2 separate regions of the Homo sapiens genome follow, and region 2 is linked to region 1. Evidence: promoter capture Hi-C in 16 types of primary human blood cells and fetal thymus (Javierre and others, 2016). All regions are on one chromosome and are shown on one strand. Each heading gives the region's core, a stretch centred on a gene start or on the middle of the fragment in contact. The rest is flanking DNA. Distances are from core to core; before and after follow the strand shown.

Evidence for each region. Contacts are between HindIII fragments. The CHiCAGO score rates a contact against its expected background, and 5 or more counts as called.
Region 2: a contact is called between a fragment that was not itself captured here and the fragment with the promoter of ARSA in region 1, in 1 of 17 cell types (endothelial precursors). The highest score is 5.6, in endothelial precursors.

Annotation. Positions count from the first base shown.
Region 1 is chr22:50,626,902-50,632,523 of GRCh38, forward strand. It overlaps ARSA (arylsulfatase A), which reads right to left and starts at 1,251. Exons shown (of 8, transcript NM_000487.6): 1 at 655-1,251; 2 at 265-505; 3 at 1-151. The coding sequence starts at 878. LOC124905149 (a long non-coding RNA gene) reads left to right here and starts at 4,593. Exons shown (of 2, transcript XR_007068161.1): 1 at 4,593-5,622. RefSeq lists an enhancer at 1-211 and a silencer at 1,146-1,335. The HindIII fragment of the contact is 2,215 bases long and covers 1-1,680 here.
Region 2 is chr22:50,731,854-50,737,475 of GRCh38, forward strand. LOC105373100 (a long non-coding RNA gene) reads right to left here. Exons shown (of 2, transcript NR_134637.1): 1 at 5,537-5,622; 2 at 3,976-5,251. It overlaps SHANK3 (SH3 and multiple ankyrin repeat domains 3), which reads left to right. Exons shown (of 25, transcript NM_001372044.2): 25 at 1-1,359. Among named protein-coding and RNA genes, the nearest start is that of ACR, 3.5 kb to the right of the region's middle. The HindIII fragment of the contact is 2,544 bases long and covers 1,554-4,097 here.

The sequences.
Region 1 (5,622 bases), core at 1-2,500:
AAGCCATGTAGCGGGCCTCTAGTCCGGGCAGCCAGGGGGGCTGCGCCTCCACGGACAGGTTGGCCAACAGTGGGATGGGGACCAGGCCCTGGTCACAGCCACCGTCGCAAGGAGTGGCCGGCGGGAAGCAGGTCAGGTTCTGGCAGGGGCCCTGAGGCGGGCAGCTGCCGTGAGGGCTGGGCTGGCAGGTGGGGCTGCGGGAGCATCAAGGGCTGGGGGACTTTGGGAGGTGGGAGGGTGGCTGAGGGCCCGGGTGGTTCCTACCTGGTCGTGGGAGTACGGGATGCCTAGAAATCGATGGAAGCCCTGATGGGGGGGCAGGAAGGCCCCCTCAGGCCCCACCCCAAGGTGCCACTTGCCGGCCATTCCTGTGAGGTAGCCTCGGGCAGCCAGGACTTCGGCCACGGTCACCTCCTCCAGGGGCAGGCCCCCCCGGGAGCTGGGCACCAGGACGCCAGGGTACATGCCCATCCGAACCGGGAGCCGGCCGGTCAGGAGGGCGGCCCTGCGGGACAAGTCACAGAGTCCCTGAGACAGACAGAAATGTGGCCTTCCCTAGAGAGAGAGACAGACGTTTTTCCCGCCCCCCTGCAATCCATTGGGAGGAAAGGGATGGAGGGTCGGGGCGGGGAAGAGGCGCGGCCCCCTCTTTACCTAGAGGGTGTGCACAGAGACACAGGCACGTAGAAGTCTGTGAACCGCAGCCCTCCCGCCGCCAGCTGGTCCAGGTTGGGAGTGGTAGAGCTGGGGTGCCCATAGCAGCCCAGGTCCCCATAGCCGAGGTCGTCGGCAAAGATCAGCACGATGTTGGGCGGACGGGCAACGGCCAGGCCAGCAGCCAGGGCCAGGAGGAGGGACCGCGGTGCCCCCATGGACATGGGACCGAGGGGTCTGTCCCAAGAGAGGGAGGGCTACTTGGCTCCAGCAGGCTCTTTCCGATACCGCAGACCCAGGCGCCGCCCTTCCCTGAGACCCCGGACCCAAATACTCCCCGACCCTGACGGCCGCCTCCTGAAGCTCCAGAGGGCCGGGGCCCGACAGTACCGGGAGACCGCGGGCTGGGACGGAACTCCTCCAGGACCAGGGCACCTTCAGATTCTCGAGCGGAGATCTGATCCTCCTCGCCTAGCGGTCCGGGCTCAGGGTCGGGGGCGTAAGTCACTTGGCGCTGACCAGCGGAGTCGGGCCGGGGGGAAGGCGCTAGAGGGAGCCCAGGAGGAGCCGGTACCGGGCTGCGGGCGCTTCCGCCTCGGCCCCGCCCCGTGACCTGTGACCCTTGCGGGGCGGGGCCGGGGGCGGGGCCGGGGGCGGGGCCGGGGGCGGGCCGGGGCGAGGGGCGTTGCTGCGCGTGCTCGCTCCGAGGCCGCCGTGTGCGCCTGAGGCTGTTGGCTGCGGTCTTGAAACGGGCTCTGGGAGCTTCCTCTGCGCGGTCGGCCCTGGCTGAGGCGTCCCGGGCTGCGCGCGGGGCTCGGCGCTGCGCAGTGTCCGGTGTCCTCTCGGTCCGGAGCTTCTCCAGAGGAGGAGCGGCTCGTGCGCCCCCAGACCTCCGGTACTGGGAGACTCGGGCCCTCCTGTAAGAGACCTGAGCGCGGAGCGTTATGGGCACCCGGTGAATGAGCAAATGGCAGGGAAAACCGTGCAGCCCCATGGACTGCGGGCTCTTCCTTCACGACTAGCAAAAGCTTTGACACCCTTTCTCCTGCGTACGCGTGTCTGTGTGCGTGTAAGCTGTGGCTGGGTGCGGGGGGCTGTGTACGTGTCTGTGTGTGGTGTGTGTGGAGTGTTTGAGGCAGGTGTGTGGTGTTTCAGGTGTGTGTGCATGTGTGGTGTTTGAGGTGTGTGTGTGTGTTTTTGTAGTGTTTGAGGGATATGTGTGTGTGGTGTTTGAGGTGGGTGTGTGGTGTTTGAGGGGTGTGTGTGTGTGGTTGAGGGGTGTGTTTGGTGTTTGAGGGGTGTGTGTGGTTGAGGTGTATGGTGGTTGAGGTGTGTGTAGTGTTTGAGGCACGTATGTGTGTGGTGTTGGGTGTGTGTGGTGTTAGAGGTGTGGCGTATGTGTGTTTGCGGTGGTTGAGGTGTGTGTGTGTGTCTGGTGTTTAGGGTGTGTCTGTTGTGTGCGTGTGGTGGTGGAGGCGTGGTGTGGTGTGGAATGTGTGTCTGGGGTCCAGTCTGGCCTGTTGCAGGGTTACGCTGCTGGGGAAAAACTCATCTGAGGACAACGTGATTGGGTCCTCGCTCCCTCGTTGGGCAGCCTTGGACTTAACCTTTTTGATCTTGAAGGAAAACACAATATGTCACCTCCAAATATATTTCCTTGACACGGTTCAAGACAGTTACTCAGAAGGACTGGAAATAGAAGAATAGCTGAAAAGCTGTCTTTTGTGGGGGAGATTTGCATCTGTGGAGAGAATCTACACTGATGCGGCCAGGCCTCCTCTGAGGCCCTCCTTGCCTGATCTGGGAAGAGTAACAGTCTGACGCCTTTAAAGGCCTGAAGGGAACATTCACCATCTGTTCTCTCTCAGGGCTGCTACCTGTGAGGTTTCATCTGTAGAACAAGGCCACCTTTGCTAGCCAGGCCTCCTCTGCTCTCCCTCCTGTAACCGGTCTTGCCACTGGTCACCTGATTTTCCACCATAAACTGTGGCCATACTTTGAGCCCATGTTCTTTCTGTAACCTCAAGATGGTATATAAGCTTCCGAACCCCATTGGGAGGTTGGGGTCATCACTCTGGTTCTCCCTGTGTGCATGAATAAATCTGTATGCCTTTTTTCTTACTAACCTGGCTTTTGTCAGTTGATTTTCTGTGAACTCAGAATGCAGAAAAGTTTTTCTCTAGGCTCCTACAGTTTTGGTGCAGTCGGTAGGATAACTAAAGTCACTCTCCTGGGAGCCTCCGTCAGGGGAACCCAGGAGCCGACAAGCTGGCAGAAAGAAGGGTAAGAAGGTCTTAGCAGCCAGGCTCCCGGCCTCTCTGGAATCTTGTCAAGCCGACGGTAAAAATGTCTGTTTACCTTGTTTTCCTCTTCAAAGTTTTAATGAGAGAAATGTATTTATGTGATTAGTTTTGTATTCATATTGTTTGATTGCTTTTTTTCCCCAGAAATAGTCGTCTTTCATTCTTGTCTTTCTGTGTTTTTCTGTCATAAAGAGGGTAGAACACAGGCCTAAAACCCCTGTAAACCCCGTCTTGGGGCCGTCCTGCAGGCTAGTCAGTTTTGCAGCTCTGATCGGATGCGTCTAGTTAGACAGACTTTGCTGTGGGTCCCTGAACTGAAAACTGGATGAGATTCTCCTCTCTTTTGATGTCCTTGAAAGCTTGAGTTGTGAGCGAGTGGGAATGATGCAGGCCAGGCAGACCCCAGAGTGGAGCTTAGCCAGTGAGGGTTTTGGCTTTGCCCAGGAAAGAATTCAAAGACAAGCCAGAGGTAGAAGAAAACAGCTTTATTGAACAGGTGGCGTTAGAGCTCTGTGACTGCTCCTGCAGAGCAGGGCCACCCCGTAGGCTGAGAGTAGCAGCTCAGGGCAGTTTTGCAGTCACATTTATACGCACTTTTGATTGCATGTAGATTAAAGGATGGTTTATGCAGAAGTTTCTAGGGAAGGAGTAGTCATCATTGGGTCATTGCCATGGAAAGGGGTGGCAACTCCTGGGTGTTGCCATGGCAATGGTAAACTGACATGGCACAGTGGCGGGCATATCTGACTGAAAGCTGCTATTGCCCCAACCCTGTTTTAGCCAATCCTCAACTGGGTCAACTAAGTCCCACCTCCTACCTCAGGAGCACTCTCTTGGCCTCTGCCAATCCGAGGTAGTGACTCGCAGGTCACATTTTGTGGTCAGTCTGAAAATGGTTGGGAACCCAAGACATTTAATATTTTAAGCAGCACCGTTTTTGTTCTGAATGTGTCAAGCTTTTAGTTTGTCTTAAGAAGTCCCTGCCAGGCGAGCTGTCAGAGCCCCGGCACTGGGAGTGGTGGTCAACTTGCGGGTTGGTAAAAAGAGTTTACCGACAATAGGTTTGAAAAAGGAAAGTTTGGCCGGGCATAGTGGCTCATGCTTGTACTCTCAGCACTTTGGAAGTCCAAGGTGGGTGGATCACCTGAGGTCAGGAGTTTGAGACCAGCCTGGCCAACATGGAGAAACCCTGTCTCTACTGAAAGTATAAAACTTAGCCAGGTGTGGTGGTGCGTGGCTGTAATCCCAGCTACTTGGAAGGCTGAGGCAGGAGAATTGCTTGAACCTGGGAGGCGGAGGTTGCAGTGAGCTGAGACAGAGCAAGACTGTCTCAAAAAAAAAAAGAAAAAAGAAAGTTTGCCGGGCACGGTGGCTCACGCCTGTAATCCCAGCACTTTGGGATGCTGAGGCAGGTGGATCACCTGAGGGCAGGAGTTCAAGACCAGCCTGGCCAACATGATGAAACCCCATCTCTACTAAAAATACAAAAAATTAGCTGGGCATGGTGTCGGGAGCCTGTATTCCCAGCTACTTGGGAGGCTGAGGCAGGAGAATCGCTTGAACCTGGGAGATGGAGGTTGTGGTGAGCTGAGATCATACCATTGCACTCCAGCCTGGGCAACAAGAGTGAAACTCCATCTCAAAAAAAAAAAAAAGAAAAAAAAAGAAAAGAAAGAAAGTTTATTAGAATGCTGCAGAAGAGTGCAATGAGGTGCCTCAGCAAGAGGACTGAGTACGCCGGGTGGATTTCTCCTTAAGGGCATTTATAGGCCTTAAAGTGGAGGCTTAACAGTAATTTGGACCATATTAGCCACGTAAGTCATGATAAATGATTACATTTATAGTAATTTTGGTGCCTTAATGTCAGCGACGGTTGTACAGTGAGTTTCGTCATGGTATTCTGGAGACACATAGAAATTATAGTTACTTACACGTTTTTTGGGGGAAGAAATCTGGAACCAGATGCCTGCTTTAGATAATAGGGAGGTTTAGTTACTTTTGATTTTCCCCAGATAAGGAGTTTTGCCTCGGAGGGCCTGTTTGATGTTTGATGGTCGCCAGGTGGTTTTTGCTCTCCTCAGGCCCATCCATAAGGGGCTTTTGTCATCCCAATGTTTGTTGCCTGGTCAGTCCTCAGAAAGCCCAATCCCAACAGGCCTACCCTGTGTTACAGGTTAATGGGTCTGTGACTGGCAGCCCCTGACAGATTGTGTGTTACTGGAGGCACTGTATGTACAAACACGTTCCTTAACTGTCTCTGGGAACAAGAGTCTTTTGCTGTCTTTGCCTATTCCTGGGAGTGAATTTTGGGGGCATCATTGGAACCTCCTCTTCTATGCCCTCTCTAAACCTGGAAAATAATCTTTTGGGCTTTCCATGAAGGGGCTTCTTGGATTGAGTTGCTATTGGAATAAATACATCATTGGAAATTCTGATTGTCAATAGCCAAAAGATGAATCCTTTACATTAGAAAGATCCCTAAATTAAAAAAAAAAAAAGATTTTAGAGGTCTCTCATTCTAAACAATTGCCTTATTTGTATTTGTGGGGAGATTAAAGGAAAGACACATAATAATGTTGTGGCTAGCCTTAGAAATCCTCTTCACAAAATTAAAGAGCAAAAATCTGACCTGTAACAAGTTAAAATCCTTTGTGCGCGCAAACCA
Region 2 (5,622 bases), core at 1,576-4,075, 110 kb after region 1:
TCACTGCCACTGCCACCCCACAACGGGGCAGGGGACGCTCCAGCTGGTCTGGGGTTGGCCAGGGCCCTAGTGGCCCGCCCTGGGGCCCCAGCTCGGCCCCTCGCCTCGCTGAGCTCTAGTGTGCCCCACCGACCCTTCAGGTGCTGCTCGTGGTGGGAGGGGCGGCAGGCCGCGGGTCCTGCTGTGCACCCGCGGGACCAGCCGGCCTGGGAGACCATCGGCCGGGGGGGATGAGGGCAGGGCCCTGCCGCTCCACCGCAGCCATCTTCCTCACAGGGTCTCTCCCCAAGGAGGGGGCTAGCTTGGTCCCCATGCTCTTGGGCAACTACAGCAGAGAAGCCTCCCTGCCTTGGACCCCAAAGTCTCCTGTCCTGCCCTTTATGTGTGTGGGTGAAACTGGGTGCGTCTGAGCACGTGGGAGCCGTGTGTGTGCCTGATTACTGAGTGGCCACCAGGGGCCGCTCTGGACTAGCGCGGGGCCGTGGAGGCGTGCACCGTGTGCATGCGTGGGGTGTACCTGTGAGAGCACCCTGTCTCCTCTTCCAAAGAAAGTCAGAGGCCATCCTGCACCCTGGGTCCAGCTGTTTGCCCAGCCTGTCCTTCCAGAGCCTCACCCAGCCTGAGCGGGGTTCCCTGGTGAATCCCTGCTGCTTGGGGAGGCCCCAAGGGCCCCTTGGAGGCAGCGCCCCCACCTTGGGCTTCTGAGGGCATCATAGGGGGACCCCTAGAGTCAGTTCACCACAGGCCCTGGGGAGAGTCAAAGACCCCCGAGGGTGCCCAGCCCCCCACACTGTGACTCCTCACACTCAGCGATGACCTGTGGGGTGGGGGGCCCTGGGACGTTTTTAAACCTAGGGTTTGGAGTCTGGACTAAGCTCCATCCACGTCACTCACAAGTTTCTGTTTATATTTCTAGCTTTTTTTAATAAAATAAAAAAAAAAAGAAAACAGAAGTTTTCACAACCCAGGGGCCTGGCACGCCGGTCTGTGCCTGCCCGCCCCGCCCTGGCCCACCGGCCCCACTCCCTGGGCACAGAGTCACACCCACTCATCCTTCCGCCAACAGTCCAGGTCACACAGCAGCAGTCACTGTAACAGACTGCCACATACACACTCGGTCTCACACTCACCTGTGGGTTTTGGTTCCGTTCAATTTGGGTTTTTAACTTTACAGGGTCAGTTCCGCTTCACCTCCTTTTGTATGGAGTTCCATCCGGGGGGTTTCACCCCCTGCTCCAGTCCTGAGGCCTCCTGACCCTGACGTTGTGATACGCCCCACAGAGATCTATGTTTCTTATATTATTATTATTGATAATAATTATTATAATATTATTATGTAATAAATTTATAAGAAATGAAGCCATGGCTCAGTTGCCTGCTTGAGGGGATATTTGTGTCTGTCCCTCATACCGGCCACACAAACCTCCTCAGCCTGGACCACATGCACGGGTGACTCCTAGATCCCTATCTTTGACCTCCATGCCTAGGCACCTGGCATCTTCCAGCATCTTCTCCGAGTCTGCTGGAACTCAGCCCATGCCTTCTGCACCGAAAGCTTTTCTCTGTTCACCAACCCACTGAGTAGCACCTCCTAAGCTGGAGGCCACTTGTCCTCCATGACCCCTGCCAGGTTTTAAGCCTAGGGTTTAAGACTTGCTCCCGCCAGCGTCCGGTTGCTTTTAAATTCTGCTGCTCCTGTCTTGGAACCCGCTCGCATCTCTCGCAACTGTCCTACCCCACGGCTGCAGACCAGATTTAGCCCTCACTCCTTCCCTGCTGATTCACTGGTTTTCTGTTTCCATTTCTGCCCTCTGCTGACAAACACCAGCCTGTCTGTAAATGCAGCTGATGGATGGACCCCGTGAGCCAGTCCGGCCCAGCCAGTGCTGCCGTGGCCCTGCCAGCATCCCCTGCTCCCTCCCCATGCACACATGCTGCTCGCCAGTCTCCCCCCACCTCCTGCAATCCCTGAGCCGCTATGACGCTTCAGGGCTCTGTCTCACACATGCCCTCTTCCTTCTGCCTGGATCACCCATCGTTTGCCTGCATCAAGCATACATAGCTTGGAGGCTGATCTCCGGATCCTGTCTTCCAGGACGTTTTCTCTGACCCGCCCTCCCTGGAGTCCCAGTTAGATGTTAGGCTCTGCGTCTGCACGGCCCTGGTGCTATCTCAAATTAGAGCAAGTTGGTGCTTCTCACCTTGGGTTGTCTGCCCAGTTGGATGTGAGGTTTCCTTTTTGCTCCCACCCTGAGCACCAGAGACAAGACATTGTCCTTCAGGAGCGCACAGGCAGTCATGTGAGCAGCCGATAATGTGGCAAAAAAGACACGTCCTGGGTGGCACCTGGTGGGGGTGGCCAGCCAACAGGAGGGACAGAGACCCCTCGCTGAGTGGAAGGAGGTGGTGAGCTATGTCTTGAAGGGCAAACAGTAAGGCAAGTGGGCAAAGGCAATCAAGAGGGAGCCGTGAGAAAGTAGAGGGCACAGGACCCAGCACTGAGGCCAGGGGCTGCAGAGATGTGACGTCCCCGGTGGGGAGGGTTGCTTACAGGAGGGGCAGTGGTTTCAGAGCCTGGACACACTGGGTTGAGGAGGCGCGTGAATATGACAGAATGACAATCGCATACCTTGGCTCTGTGGTTAACCTTAGCCAGGGGTGGGGCCGGTGGCACCGTGGAGAAGTGCCACTAGCCCCAGACTCTGAGTCCCCATGGAGGCCTAGGGCTCCATGTGCAGCCCAGGGAGACCCACCCTCCCGATTCCACACACTCAGGCCCAGAGCGAGTCAGGGGCCCCCTGCTCCCACACTCAGACCCTTGCAGGGCCCCCCTCCTTGACTTCCCGTGCAGCCCTTTCCTTATGATGGCCTCAGTTTCTAATCTGAAAATAAGATGAGGATTAGGAAATGTTGAAAATTTGAAATTGTGTGGCCTCTGCTCTTCCTGTGGGCTGGCACCCCCCAGCCACTCCCAAGACCTGTGGACAACTTTGGGGCAGGGCCAGGACATGGAGGCTGCTTTTGTTTTGTTTTGAGACAAGGTCTCACCCTGTCACCCAGGCTGGAGTGCAGGGGCATGATCGTGGCTCACTGTAGCCTCAACCTCCTGGAATTGAGCGATCCTCCTGCCTCAGCCTCCCAAGTAGCTGGGACTGCAAGCGTGGGCCATCACACCTGACTAATTTTTTTTTTATTTTTTATGAGATGGGGGCCTCATTTTGCTGCCCAGGCTGGTCTAGAACTCCACCCTCCTTAGCCTTTCAAAGTGCTTCGATGACAGGTGTGGGCCACCTTGCCCAGCCTGAGGCTGGTTTTCAAGCTGTCATCAACCATAGCCTCAAAGGGCCTTCGTCCTTCTCCATGGCGCCACCCAGACCCTCACCTGCTTGCTTAAACCACCCCCGAGGCACCTGCTTCCCCTGGGTGAAGACCTGAAACCTACCCCTTTTCGGCCCTCAAGGTTTCACTGCGTCAACCATTCTTACTCCCTCTGGGATCTTCTTGCCTTCCTGGCTGGCTGGACATTGAGGATGGTTGGATAAGGTTTCTGCTCCTCACGGAGGGTGGTGGGGACAGGAATGGAAAAGTAGGGGATTGGGGGCTGGAAGGGATTGGAGATCAGGGTGAGAAAAACTGGGGTGGGAGTTGGATTGCCCAGGTAAATAAGGCATGGGGACAGAAGTGGGCACGGCTGGCGAAGGCAGCGGGTGGTTGGGGTGAGCAGGAGCAGCGAGAATGGCTGGGATGAGCTGGAGGGGTGCCTGGGGGTCAGGGTGGAAGCAGAGAGCAGGGAGGAGTTTGAGGGGAGATGGGGAGCCCCCATCCTGCCCCCTGTGCTGAGCACTCTGCCTCAGCCTGAGCCATGCCCTCGGATGGGACCCCACCCTCTGGCCCCAGACCTGTCACCCATTTCTCCTTCGCTCTTAGAACAGCATGAAGAAGGTCAGACAAAGTCACTCTGAGTTGAGATGTTTGTTGCTTCCATTAGTTTAATGACAAAATTAAATGGGCCGGGCCAGGTACTTTTCCCGCAACCATCACTATAGCCACGGGCAGGCACGATGACTGGCAGCCCCTTCTAGAATCAGAAGTGGGTAAGCTTTGCGGAGTCAAACTGTAATGGTCTTCTAGAATCCAGACACTGACATTGGGTCTTCAGACTTTTTTATTGATACCTCCTAAATATTTGTAAAGAAATAGGTGCTATCCATTAAAAACACCCGAATAATATTTTCTTTAACAGTCAAAACTTTAATCTTCTTCTTTTTTTTTTTTGAGACAGGGTTTCACTCCCATTGCCCAAGCTTGAGTGCAATGGTGCGATCTCGGCTCACTGCAACTTCTGCCTTCTGGGTTCAAATGATTCTCCTGCCTCAGCTTTCTGAGTAGCTGGGATGCAGGTGCCACTGCACCTGGCTAATTTTTGTATTTTTTGTACAGACGGGGTTTTGCCGTGTTGCCCAGGCTGGTCTGGGGCTCCTGAGCTCAAGTGATCTGCCTGCCTCACCCTCTCAAAGTGCTGGGATTACAGGCATGAGCCTCTGCACTTGGGCCCACTTCTTCAATTCTTCTTGCCATTTCTTGAACCATATTTCCAAAGTCTTTTTCTGGTTATTTATGAGACACAACTTGATGCTCAGTTAAAATAAGTGAGGTCCGCTAACACTCAGTAGTGCAGCTGAAACCTATTCACATTCAAGTCACGAAATAGAACTTGTATGCCCTTCAGCTAGAGGAAGTGGGGCTACCTGACATAAAGGTAGAAAAATCCCCTGACACTCGGAGGAGATAAAGTGTCATGACTTAGATAGGGCATATAGGAGATAGGAGGTTTCATGACTCTCAGGTAAGGGAGATGAGACCTCCAGACAACCAGGAAGAGGTGAGAATACCTCCAGACCTCAGGGGGTTGAGATGAGAACTTTGGACACCCAGAATAGAGGAGATCTCATGATACTCTAGCAGAGGAGATGAAAGCTCCATGCCATTTAGACAGGGATATGAGACTATATTCAAGTAGAGGGTAGGACATGCCCTGGCACCCAGATGGGGGCAATGAGATCTCCCAACACTCTGGTATACCGGTGGAGACTTCAGAACATTCATATAGGTAAAATACAACCTCTTGACATTCAGCTGGAAGATGTAAGACCTCTTGATTTTCAGGTAGAGAAAGTGCGACAGGGTGACACTTGGGTGGTGGAGGTGAGAATTCTTAACCTGTAGGTGGAGGCGATGAGGGCCTCTGGCACTGAAGTGGAAAAACAGAGTTGTTATTTCTTTCAAAGAAGGAGGTGATCACTCCCTGATACTGGGTAAGATATACGAGACCTATTGAACATTCATTTGAGGATGTCATAAGTACGACATTCAGTTAGAGAAAATAGATAAATCAAGATCATCTGATAATCTGAAAACTCAACACTCAGGAATAGGAGATGAGATGTCCTGACACTCAGGTTGGAGGCATGGGACCTTCTGACACCCACTTAGATGATGTGCAACCTATTGACCCTCGGGCTGGTTGAGATCTTACATTCAGGTAGAAGAGGTAAGGCTGCCCTCATGCAGGTAAGAGTGTGACCTCCTGACACTTGCAGGCGATGGGAAATGTTTTAACAT